3 separate regions of the Homo sapiens genome follow, and regions 1 and 2 are each linked to region 3. The links are contacts of gene promoters, found by promoter capture Hi-C in human tissues and cell types (Jung and others, 2019). All regions are on one chromosome and are shown on one strand. The core of a region is centred on a gene start or on the middle of the fragment in contact, and the rest is flanking DNA. Distances in the headings are between cores, read along the strand shown. Region 1 has its middle 20 kb from the start of GOLGA7. Region 2 overlaps GOLGA7 (golgin A7). Region 3 holds the start of NKX6-3 (NK6 homeobox 3).

Region 1 (3,734 bases), core at 856-3,355, 180 kb before region 3:
ACCAGCCCAAGGAAACCAACATAGTCCTCATTAAGCTTGCAAACTCATCTGGTACCACCCTGAACACTCCAAAACATCTGCATTCATCCCGGAACCAAACAGTTCTTTCCAACATGGCAGCCCAGAGAATCCCCCCTGCTTAAGAACATGCAAGGCTAACGAAGCTTGAGCTTCATGGCCCATCATTTGCATATGCTGGGAGCCCTGGCAACTTTGTTTTCATAATTTCACATTCTTTTTCTTAGAGTGCCTACCGCCTCCCCTCAAATTCTTTTATTTTTATTTTTTATTTTATTTTATTTTCAGAGGGGGGTCTCACTCTGTGGCCCAGGCTATAGTACAGTGGAGTGATCATAGCTCATTGCACCCCCAACCTAAATTTTATTTATAAGCTTCAAAAAACATGAAACATGAATCCACCCCTGCCTTTACGGTAAAATGTAAGTTGTTAGCTGGATAGCCAGAGGACTTTGCCCCCAGCCTCACCCTGTCTCTCCAGACCCCACTCCCACACGCTGCCTGCCCAAGCCCTCCCTTCTGCTCAGATGACCCCTTGGGGCTCCCTGCCCATGCTGCCCACGTTCCCCCCTCCACACTGCAGCTCAGGGCAGTCCTGTGCTTCTCTACTTATAGATTTTTCTTCCCATAATACCTAGTTCAAGCCTGGTTCTGCTTGGACGGTATTTCTTGTCCTCCCTAGCCAGTGGAAGTCAGCTTCCTCCTGCAGAACTCTCTAGTTTGCATTGCTTTTACCTTTTACAAACTCCTCTCCCCGCCATCATTGTCCATCACTTTCTCTGATGCTCCAGGCATTTAGAAAAAGAAAGGGGCCAGAGAAACAGACCTCCTAGGCACAGCCCACTCCCCTCCCTCCTTTTCTTCTTTCTGCCTCTCCCAAATCTGTATGACTCCACAGTCTCATCCCAAATGCAATCCTAAGGCCCCCCCAAAAGTCAGGCCAGTCATGTTCTGATTTTCTCTTTCTTCTCTTGGAGAAGTTTATATCCTGGGCTGCATGGAAACCTCAGTATCTATCTGAATATCTCAGAGCTATCTAAAATCTTCCTAAAGGGTGTGGTCTGGCCATCCCATATGGGAGCTTACATAGTCTAAATCTCCCCTGCATGTAGATCCAGATTCCTCTGTCTGGTTTGGAGACATAGAGCTGGCTGTGGTGGGGCCTCATCCCTCATCACCACCCCCGCAAGTTTGATAAACTTCAAAAACGACAAAACATGAATCCACCCCTGCTTTAGGGTAAAATGTAAGTTCTTAACTGGACAGTCAGAAAACCCCACCCCCAGCCTCGCCCTGTCTCTTCAGATCCACCTCCGACCTGCTCAGCTGACCTTCTCAGAGCTCCCTGCACAGGCTGAACACTTTGATGGTGTAATGAACACACCATCTCTAAGTGACTTCAAAGAGAAAGCTGGCTTAGACAGCATCCCGAAAGACATTTGCTTAATGTCTCAGTTCTTGTAGGAACCTAAGCATTTCCTGTTGTGCACATCACTTTATTTGGATAGTAAAGGAAAAGATGACTGTGCAAAGCTAGAATACTTGGGGACTTTTGGGATGACCCAGGCAGAGTTTCATTTGTGGTCACCTATGAGTTAGCTTATAAAAGTCCAGATGGGGTTACACCTTGATAAACTCATCATAAGCCAAAAATCTAATAAGTTAAAGATGCATTTGATATACCTAACCTCCCAAACACCATAGCTTACCCTTGCCTGCCTTAAAAGTGCTCAGAACACTTATATTAGCCTACAGCTGGGCAATGTGATCTAATAAAAAGCCTATTTTATAATAAGGTGTTGAACATCTCATGTAATTTATTTACTACTATACATTACATTGAAATTGCAATGGTTTAACACCATCTTAAAGTTGAAAAATCATTGAGTAGGAGACTGTGTAGAAAAGAGGATGGAGATAGATAGCGAGCTTAAATTTTGCATTCCTTGTGGTTCTATAGTATTTCCTTAATGATTTAGATCAGAATGTCTTCTTTAGTCCATATTCATCAAGATAGATGACAGTTTGCTTTTTTATCGCATGTCAACATCCTTACAGATATCCACATGGGATTCTTGCTGATGGTACCCTTCTCTGTTTGGAGTGATCCTGAAATGTTACAGTTTGCTTCAATGCGTAAGTATAAATGCCCCAGGAAGAATAAGCTTAAGGTGTCATCATTCCTTCATTTGTGTCCGCATAGTGTGCTAGTATAAGGACACAGCCACCTCACAGGCAATTAAGGGACCTGACGTTATGCCCAAGAGTGTTGAGTTTGTGTATGTAGCCTGGCCTGAAATAACCGGTTTTCTAGAATCGGGCCTCCTGCTGAGCTTAAAGGAAATCCCATCATTTCTCAGTACCTTAATTTCCCTTTTCACAAAATTGAAATTAGAACTGCTTGCCTCACTGGAGGACTCTCTGAGGACTCACTAGTTGACATCTGTAAATATTTTGAGGCTGAAAATGATTATGAAAATCAGATGTGCAACTATCCACATGTGCCTGACGTATGTACTGAAACCAGAAAGGGTCTTCCACAAATCAGGGTGTGGGTGTGAAAGGGACTTAATACAAGTCGGCCTTGGTGGTTCCATGAACATCTTGAGAGGTTCTCTCTGGAACTCACCCTTCCAAGGGAATGACTGGGGAGAGAGATGCTGTGGGCAACACATTAACATTCAGAGAGAGACGATGAATGTGGGGAAGGAGCCCCAAATTACAGGGTCAGAAGACCTGGATGCGTATTCTAACTCTACCACATTTTTGGCCGGCAGCCTTTTGTAGGGTAAACGCACCTGACAACAATAATTAAGCATATCCCTAGAATGGCCCTGTATGGCAGATGCACCTGAACATGTGTTCTGAGCTAAGGAATCCAGGGTGGCCAACCTGGAGATTTGTTCCTTGCCTATAAGGAATGTGTAAGCCCCTGGCCTGGTCCGCGGGACACGGGCCAAATAGAGAATTGAGGGCCTGAGTTTTGGGTTAAGTGAAGGTTTCCAGGTGGAGGTCATTAAGAAGAGGTTGTTAAGTGAAAGTGATATATAAACTGCATGCTGTTTACCAGCAGTTGGGGTTCTCCTGTCCAGCCCACCGCCACTGGAGTCTCTCCCTATCTGTAAGCCCCTAATAAAACCTCATGTCTCGGCCGGGTGCAGTGGCTCACGCCTGCAATCCCATCACTTTGGGAGGCCAAGGTGGGTGGATCACCTGAGGTCGAGAGTTCGAGACCAGCCTGACCAACATGGAGAAACCCTGTCTCTACTAAAAATACAAAATTAGCCGGGCATGGTGGTGATGCCTGTAATCCCAGCTACTCGGGATGCTGAAGCAGGAGAATCACTTGAACCTGGGAGGCGGAGGTTGCAGTGAGCTGAGATCATGCCATTGCACTCCAGCCTGGGCAACAAGAGTGAAACTCTGTCTCAAAAGAACAAAAACAAAAGCAAAACCTCATGTCTCGTTTGCTATTTCTGGGTCTCTTCTTCAGCCTCTTGAACCTGGAGCCTTCTCTCTTGAGGTTAATAGGAGTTCGGCAGGACACCTTTAAACTAGTATTTGGTAGAGTAACTCATTTTCCCTGTACTGAATTCAGAGCCATTTCATTTTATCACTCGAGCCAGATTCTTGGCTAGGCATTAACTAAAACTGCATAGTTTCATTAAATATATTTCAGAAAATGTGGTTAAAACTAGCCAGTTCAAGCCCGGGTG
Region 2 (3,625 bases), core at 981-3,480, 140 kb before region 3:
GGTACCAAGATATTTTAGTAGATAAAATTCTAGGTTAGTAGAACATAGACCACATGTTATAAGCTGATATCAGTTGATGGAAGAAAAATGGTTTTACAAGTTATTTTCAGGATCTCTATCAAACCTTTACTTCTCCCTCTAATTACAGATCCCACTTCCAGCCGGGCCCCTCATGTATCCACTGGCCGACCGCAGAGTGTCCCTACCTCCTCTCCAGAGCATCATTCCTTTCTATCTGCTGCCAGAGCCACGGTGCCATTTACTCCAAGGACTCACTTTCTAAAATTCCACACCTGGAGTGACCTCTAGTCGCTCAGCATCCACTTTGTGTCTCCAAATTGTGTAGGACTCTGTAATCTTTTGATTAGTTTCTGAGAAAACACAATGAAGCACTTCACTTTTTTTTATTCAAAGCCATTTAATAAAACACAGTTGGTCAGCCCAGTGCAAAGCTTGTTATCTGCCACCAGTACATACCATTGGTTCTCTTCATTCCTTGGGCCAGCTTCTCAGGTGGCTTTAGACCTCAACAAGCCGTATCTTCACCAGTGTTCTATCTTGTTCCCCTAAATTAATAAAATGTTTTTCTCCAGGATTTTGGTGAGGGTTGGCTGTGGCTGTCGTTTTGCACCTCCCAGATTTCAAAGAATTACTGGTTTTACCATGACTCAAATCTTAAGATCTGTTTCTACTATTCAGTTCCTCAAACTGAAGCTTATTGAAAAAAAAATGTATAATGTTATTTGTTTTATTATAGCAATTATGCCTAATTAAAGCAGTATTTAATGCAATTTCCAGTTATTTCTTTGGAGAATTTTATGTCATTGTTCCATTACCTTGAATGTTGGAAAGATATGATACGTGCTGCTTGTTCATCACAAAAATCAGTAAGCACAATAAAGTGGATGCCAAACCATCAGACACATAAATGTTCCCGCTGTGTCCCTGGATATGGAATAAGCAGGTATAAAAAATATTTTAATTATAGTTTTGTTATAAATATAACTTATGAGAAAAAAATTTGATAGGAATAATACTGTATATTACTAATTTTTAACTATCCCTAAGGCAAACCTTATGACCCACAGAATTTTCTCATATACAGTATTCAGTGCACAGAAATCTTATGATTGGCTCAAGTACAGTAAGTTACTTCTCAGTAAAACTCTCAAGTCTGAGTCCATATTTGTAGCTCTGCTTTTGGCTGTACGTTCCTAGGATCGGGGCTGCTTATGCCTTTCGTTTATCCTTGGGGTTTGAGAGCGCTGTATTTGGGAGAGAGTTTAAAAATACATTAGGAGAGAGAAACCATTAAAAGTTTCACTGTCAGATATATTGTAGGTGCTAATACTGGATTTCGTCTCAGATTTAATTTCTTTTATGGGTCTGTTAGTCATTCAACAAATCCCATAAGTATGTGTTAATATTTTAATTGTGTAAAACTCATTTGTTACTTTACAGCCTGTAATAGTGTGTCTGCATTTTCAACCTGTTGCAATAACTTTGCTGAAATATTAACACATTAATAAAACTTTTCTTAAACAAGTTGTCTCTGTGTCATATTTGGTGGGATTTGGTAGTAAATGATGGTAAAGTGGTAAATGATAGGACACTAAATTTGTCAGATAATACTAGAATTGTAGTAGTGTACCGTACAATGTAGCTTAGTGTTTTAAAATAAACATCTTACATTTCTATGTCACACCTCTCAATTTCTTACCTGCTTTATCTTACAACAGCAGGTATATTATAAGTAAAAATTAAGGAGTAGTCGTTGACAAAGCCTGCTCTCTTCCCCGGACAGCATGAGCTTCACCACTCCCTCCACCTTCTCCACCAACTACCAGTCCCTGGGCTCTGTCCAGCCGCCCAGCTATGGCACCTGGCCGGTCAGCAGCGCAGCCAGCATCTATGCAGGCACTGGGGGGCTTGGGATCCCAGATCTCCATGTCCTGTTCTACCAGTTTCTGGGGCGGCTTGGGGTCTGGGGGCCTGGCCACAGAGATGGCTGGGGGTCTGGCAGAAATGGGGGGCATCCAGAATGAGAAGGAGACCATGCAAAGCCTGAACGACCACCTGGACTACCTGGACAGAGTGAGGAACCTGGAGACCGAGAACTGGAGGCTGGAGAGCAAAATCCAGGAGTATCTGGAGAAGAGACCCCATGTCAGAGACTGGGGCCATTACTTCAAGACCATCAAGGAACTGAGGGCTCAGATCTTCGCAAATACTGTGGACAATGTCCACATCATTCTGCAGATCGACAATGCCCGTCTTGCTGCTGATGACTTCAGAGTCAAGTATGAGACAAGAGCTGGCCATGCGCCAGTCTGTGGAGAGCAACATCCATGGGCTCTGCAAGGTCATTGATGACACCAATGTCACTCTGCTGCAGCTGGAGACAGAGATGGGCGCTCTCAAGGAGGAGCTGCTCCTCATGAAGAAGAACCATGAAGAGGAAGTAAAAGGCTTGCAAGTCCAGATTGCCAACTCTGGGTTGGCCGTGGAGGTAGATGCCCCCAAATCTCAAGTCCTCGCCAAGGTCATGGCAGACATCAGGGCCCAATAGGATGAGCTGTCTCAGAAGAACTCAGAGAAGCTAGGCAAGTACTGGTCTCAGCAGACTGAGGAGAGCACCACAGTGGTCACCACACACTCTGCCAAGGTCAGAGCTGCTGAGATGACACGGAGCTGAGACGTACAGTCCAGTGCTTGGAGATTGACCTGGACTCAATGAGAAATCTGAAGACCAGCTTGTAGAACAGCCTGAGGGAGGTGGAGGCCCGCTACGCCCTGCAGATGGAGCAGCTCAACAGAATCCTGCTGTACTTGGAGTCAAAGCTGGCACAGAACTGGGCAGAGGGCCAGCGCAAGGTCCAGGAGTACAAGGACTTGCTGAACATCAGGGTCAAGCTGGAGGCTGAGATCGCCACCTACCGCCGCCTGCTGGAAGACAGCGAGGGCCTCAATCTTGGTGATGCCCTGGACAGCAGCAACTCCATGCAAACCATCCAAAAGACCACCACCCGCCAGATAGTGGATAGCAAAGTGGTGTCTGAGATCAGTGACACCAAAGTTCTGAGACATTAAGCCAGCAGAAGCAGGGTACCCTGTGGGGAGTAAGAGGCCAATAAAAAGTTCAGAGGTCAAAAAAACATCAAGGAATAGTCCATGGTAATTAAAAAATGTATATTTTTTTTGAGATGGAGTTTTGCTTTTTGCCCAGGCTGGAGTGCAATGGCACCATCTCGGCTCACTGCAAACTCCGCCTCCCGGATTCAAGTGATTCTCCTTCCTCAGCCTCCCGAGTAGCTGAGATTACAGGCGCCCGCCACCATGCCCAGCTAATTTTTTTATTTTTAGTAGAGACAGGGTTTCACCATGTGGGCCAGGCTGGTCTCAAACTCCTGACCTCAGGTGATCTGCCTGCCTCAGCCTCCCAAAGTGCTGGGATTACAGGTGTGAGCCACCACACCCAGCCTAAAAAACATATTTAAAGAAATAAGACATTGGCATGTTTCATTAGGAAAAAGGCATCACAGTTATTGTTACTATCTTGGATCACCTGATGACTCAGTGTAGTTTTATTATTTTTTTTTCTGGGTACATAGGTGTCTATATTCAC
Region 3 (3,629 bases), core at 778-3,277:
GCCAGAGACCCTGACCCCCAGCCTGGCCAGGGCAGCAGGCTCGGGAAGGAGCTGTGGGCAGTGGTTCCCACATGTCAGGCCTCGTTCTGTGCAGTCTGACAGCTCAAGTTACAGGTGAGGAAACTGAGGCACAGAGAGAGGAAGAGCCCTCCTGAGAGATCATGTTCAAGTCTCTCTGCCTTTGCCTTCATTAGCCACTGACTTTCTTGGCTATGTCCCTGTGTGTGTACCTGCATTCAGGACTGAAGAGGTGGTGTGTGGGATGTGGAGAGGGGAGGGGGAGATGGAGGGAAGAGAGAGTCAGCTGAGGCTTAAAGCACCCCTGAAGCCAAGCCTAAAACAGGATCTGAGAGAGGAGGCCTTCACCCCCAGGGGCACAGCGATGGGTGGCAGCCCATGGAGGGGTGGCTGTCAGGCACTGTGACCGGCAAGGCAGAGTAGCAAATGGGGGGACAGGTGTGCTTTTGGGGTTCCCTAGGTTGGCCCCAAGCCCCCATTGGCGTAGGAGAGCCCGGAGATCAGACAGAAATGGAGGCCCCTGCCTGACGTGGGCAGGGCTTCGGTGGCACGGAGAAGATTCCAAAAACTCTCACCTCCCTGCCTCCCAGCAGAGCCTCACCTGCCCTGCCACCTCCTCCAGTAACCCTGACTGGCATCACGGGCCCACCCTCTGAAAACCTTGGCTGAGGGATGGGTCGGCTGAGAAGAGGCCCCCTGCTTCCCCACAGCCAAGGCCAAGTTCAGCTGGACTCAGCAGCAACTCCCCGAGACAGGCTACTTGGTGTGGCTGCTGTTGCTAGAAACCCGAGGATGTGGTGGGCAACAGCCCCCTGGCTCAAAGGCTGGACCCGGATGGGGTCAGGGTGCGTTCTGCACCCTTGAGTGATGCCAGGGCTCTCTGGGAAGGTGAGCTAGGACATTTTCCTCACGGGGGTAGCATTTGCCTGCTTTGGGTGAAGAAGTGGTTGCATGGGCCCTGGGCTGCAGAAGCCAGCTGGGCTGCCTACTGGACCTCGTGCAGGGCAGGCGTGGGCTGTGGGGCCTTCTCTACATCTGGAACTGCCGGGGGCCCTAGGAGGGCAGCTGAGGTGGCTGGCATGTGAGGGGGGTGGCTCAGACACCTGTGTCCAAGCACTGCTGGATGGGAAGGAGGAGAGGGTGGAACTCAGCCTGCACTGAGCTGAGGCTACGAGTCCAGGGGTTAATGGCGACTGGGGGAGAGGGCGGAGGTGCAGGGTGCCCGGGAGGAGGCCCCTCCTCGTCCTCTGCCCCCCGGGGCCTGGCGGGTGCCGGGAGGTGGCTGGGGAGGACCCGTACTCACTGTTGCTGCACTGCCGCCCGCCTCGCCAGTCTTGGCCCGTGTCCGCCCAGCAGTTCCGGGTCCGGGTCGGGTACTCGTTCCCAGCCTTGGAAAAATTCCCTACCTGGGGGCTGTAGTAGACCCCCTGCGAGCTGAGCCCCCCAAAGCCTGCCACGTGGGGGTAGCCGGAGAGGAGGCTGTTGTTCGGCGCAGCCACGGGCCTGCTCAGGATGTCCGTGATCCCGTGGGGGGTTCCGGCGGCCAGCTGGGGGCCCAGCCCTGGGGGGCTGAGCTTGTAGAAGGAGTTCTGCACAGAGTACTGGCACACCGGGGCCTTCATCTCCGGAAACTGAGCCAGCGGCGTGTTGTTCAGCAGGAACGTCCCCTGCAGGTTGGACTCCATGATCTCCCAGTCAGGACAGGGAAGGCTTCTCCAGGCCCCTAAAACCCAAGAGCCCACTCTCTAGCCCCAAATCTCATGGCAGGCCTGGAGGCTTAGGACCGTCTCCGAGCTCCTGACTGCCTCCCACCTAAGGCATGGGCCAGGCCCTGGCCCAGGAACCGGCACCCGATCAGCTGCTCGGAAGTCAGGTGCTCGGGGCAGGTGGGAGGCCTCCCCAGGGCTCCTGGCCTCTCTCCTTGCCCTGGCCGGACAGGGTGGCCCCCTAAGCCTCAGCTCAGACCCCCTTTCTGCCTCTGAGTCGGGGGACCCTCCATGAGAAGTTTTAAGTTCAGAGAAGGAACATTTCCCTGATAAAGATACGGCCCATTAGAATACAGGCCGGAGACTGGCTGAGCCGCCGGAGCCGCGCCGCCATTGGTCGGGGCGCACACGGGCCTCACATTGGCTTTTCCTAGACAAATTGCACTTTGAAAGATTGACTGTACAATCAGCCAGGGTGTGTGTGTGTGTGTGTGCGCGCGCGCGCGCGCGCGCGCGTGTGTGTGTGTGTGTATGCGCGCGCGCGCGAGAGAGAGACAGAGAATTAGCTCTAGAAGCCCTACTCATCGCCGGAGGGTCCATTTGCTCCCCGCAAGTCTAGCATCTAGGAAAAGGTGAGCGTCTGGGGGCCCCTGGAGGCTCCCAAGGCAATTGGAAGTCACTGTTCCTACAGCTGCTCCCCTAGGGAAGAGGAGGCTGGACTCAGAGGCCACTGTCCGGAGCTGCGCCGGCCCCTTTATGTGCACATGTCCAAGCTCCACAGGAGAACGCAGCCGCTTCCTTCCCTTCCGCATGCGGGGATGGGGTAAGTGGCATAAGATGGGGGTAAGTGCGGGGATGGGGTAAGAGGCTGAGTGGCATTGCTTTCTGGGGGATGCAAGTCCCTGTGGCTGGCTTGAGAGCCTAGGGTGGGAGCCTGCTGGGAAGAGGGCAGCGCGGGGCGTAGGCAGCCCTGACAGTGCCGGGGTGTGAGTCCTCCAACTGCAGGAGGCTGAAGAGAGGGCCGCCCTGCACGCATGTTCTTGCCTCCACCTCTGGTCGGCCTTCCGTGACCTCCCTATCAGAATCTCTTCCTCATTTGTGCCTCTGCTGGAGCAATGGCCATGCTCTGTCTGGCGTGGTGCCCGGGTTTGAAATCCCTGATGGCTGAGAGGGTGGTGGAGCCCCGTGCCGGGCACTCCGTCGGTGCTCAGTTAGTAGTTGATGCAGTGGACTGGGCTGAATCACAGAACATGCATATGCTTTTTTTTTTCTCGAATAAATTTTTACAACATACAAGGCTCTATTGGGGGAAGCTCTCATTTTACAAACAGGAAAACCAAGGTATAGAGGAATTGGAGCCCACTTTCCAGGTACATGGGTGATTTCTGGACCAGGCAGGATTCTTCCCTGCAGTTTTTCTCTAAAACTGGAAACTAGCATGCCACTGGCCTGAACATGTAAAATGCTAGGAAAGACTGTGACTGCCAGACAGATGGACTTCTGCTCCTCTCTGTGCCTGGTGGCCCCAGAGCCCTTCCTGACCAGGCGTGGGCTCTGCAGGGCTTGCTCTCTCACTCCCCAGAGGCCGCCCTGGTAGGTGGGAGACTAGAGGCACTGCTTCACTGAGCTTCTCCTGGGTTTCCAGGCCGTCTTGGTTTTCAGTGGGGAGCAGAGGACCCAAGGCTCAGGGCAGGATTCCTTCTCATGCAGAAGTTGACCCTCTGTAGCACAGGGATTTAGGTTATGCAAGAAAGATCTCACAAAGGGTGTGGAATGATTCCCTACAAATTTGGTTTAAAGAGAAAAGAGCTACGTCTTCGTCTGAGATGGCTTTGCCACCAGGTCGCGTGCCACAGCCATCTGGTAGACCTGGTTCTGGTTCCCGGTGTCACCACCCAATTCCCC

Evidence for each region. Contacts are between HindIII fragments. The study calls those that stand out against the background at their distance.
Region 1: a contact is called between a fragment that was not itself captured here and the fragment with the promoter of NKX6-3 in region 3, in 1 of the 25 tissues and cell types used here (spleen).
Region 2: a fragment that was not itself captured here is called in contact with the fragment with the promoter of NKX6-3 in region 3 in 1 of the 25 tissues and cell types used here (spleen).

What each region holds. Positions count from the first base shown.
Region 1 is chr8:41,468,390-41,472,123 of GRCh38, forward strand. No RefSeq gene overlaps it. Among named protein-coding and RNA genes, the nearest start is that of GOLGA7, 20 kb to the right of the region's middle. The HindIII fragment of the contact is 4,012 bases long and covers 100-3,734 here.
Region 2 is chr8:41,509,436-41,513,060 of GRCh38, forward strand. It overlaps GOLGA7 (golgin A7), which reads left to right. Exons shown (of 5, transcript NM_001002296.2): 5 at 149-1,545. It also overlaps the pseudogene KRT18P37. Among named protein-coding and RNA genes, the nearest start is that of GINS4, 18 kb to the right of the region's middle. The HindIII fragment of the contact is 4,424 bases long and covers 19-3,625 here.
Region 3 is chr8:41,648,790-41,652,418 of GRCh38, forward strand. It overlaps NKX6-3 (NK6 homeobox 3), which reads right to left and starts at 2,028. Exons shown (of 3, transcript NM_001364841.2): 1 at 1,322-2,028. The coding sequence starts at 1,703. The HindIII fragment of the contact is 20,465 bases long and covers 1-3,629 here.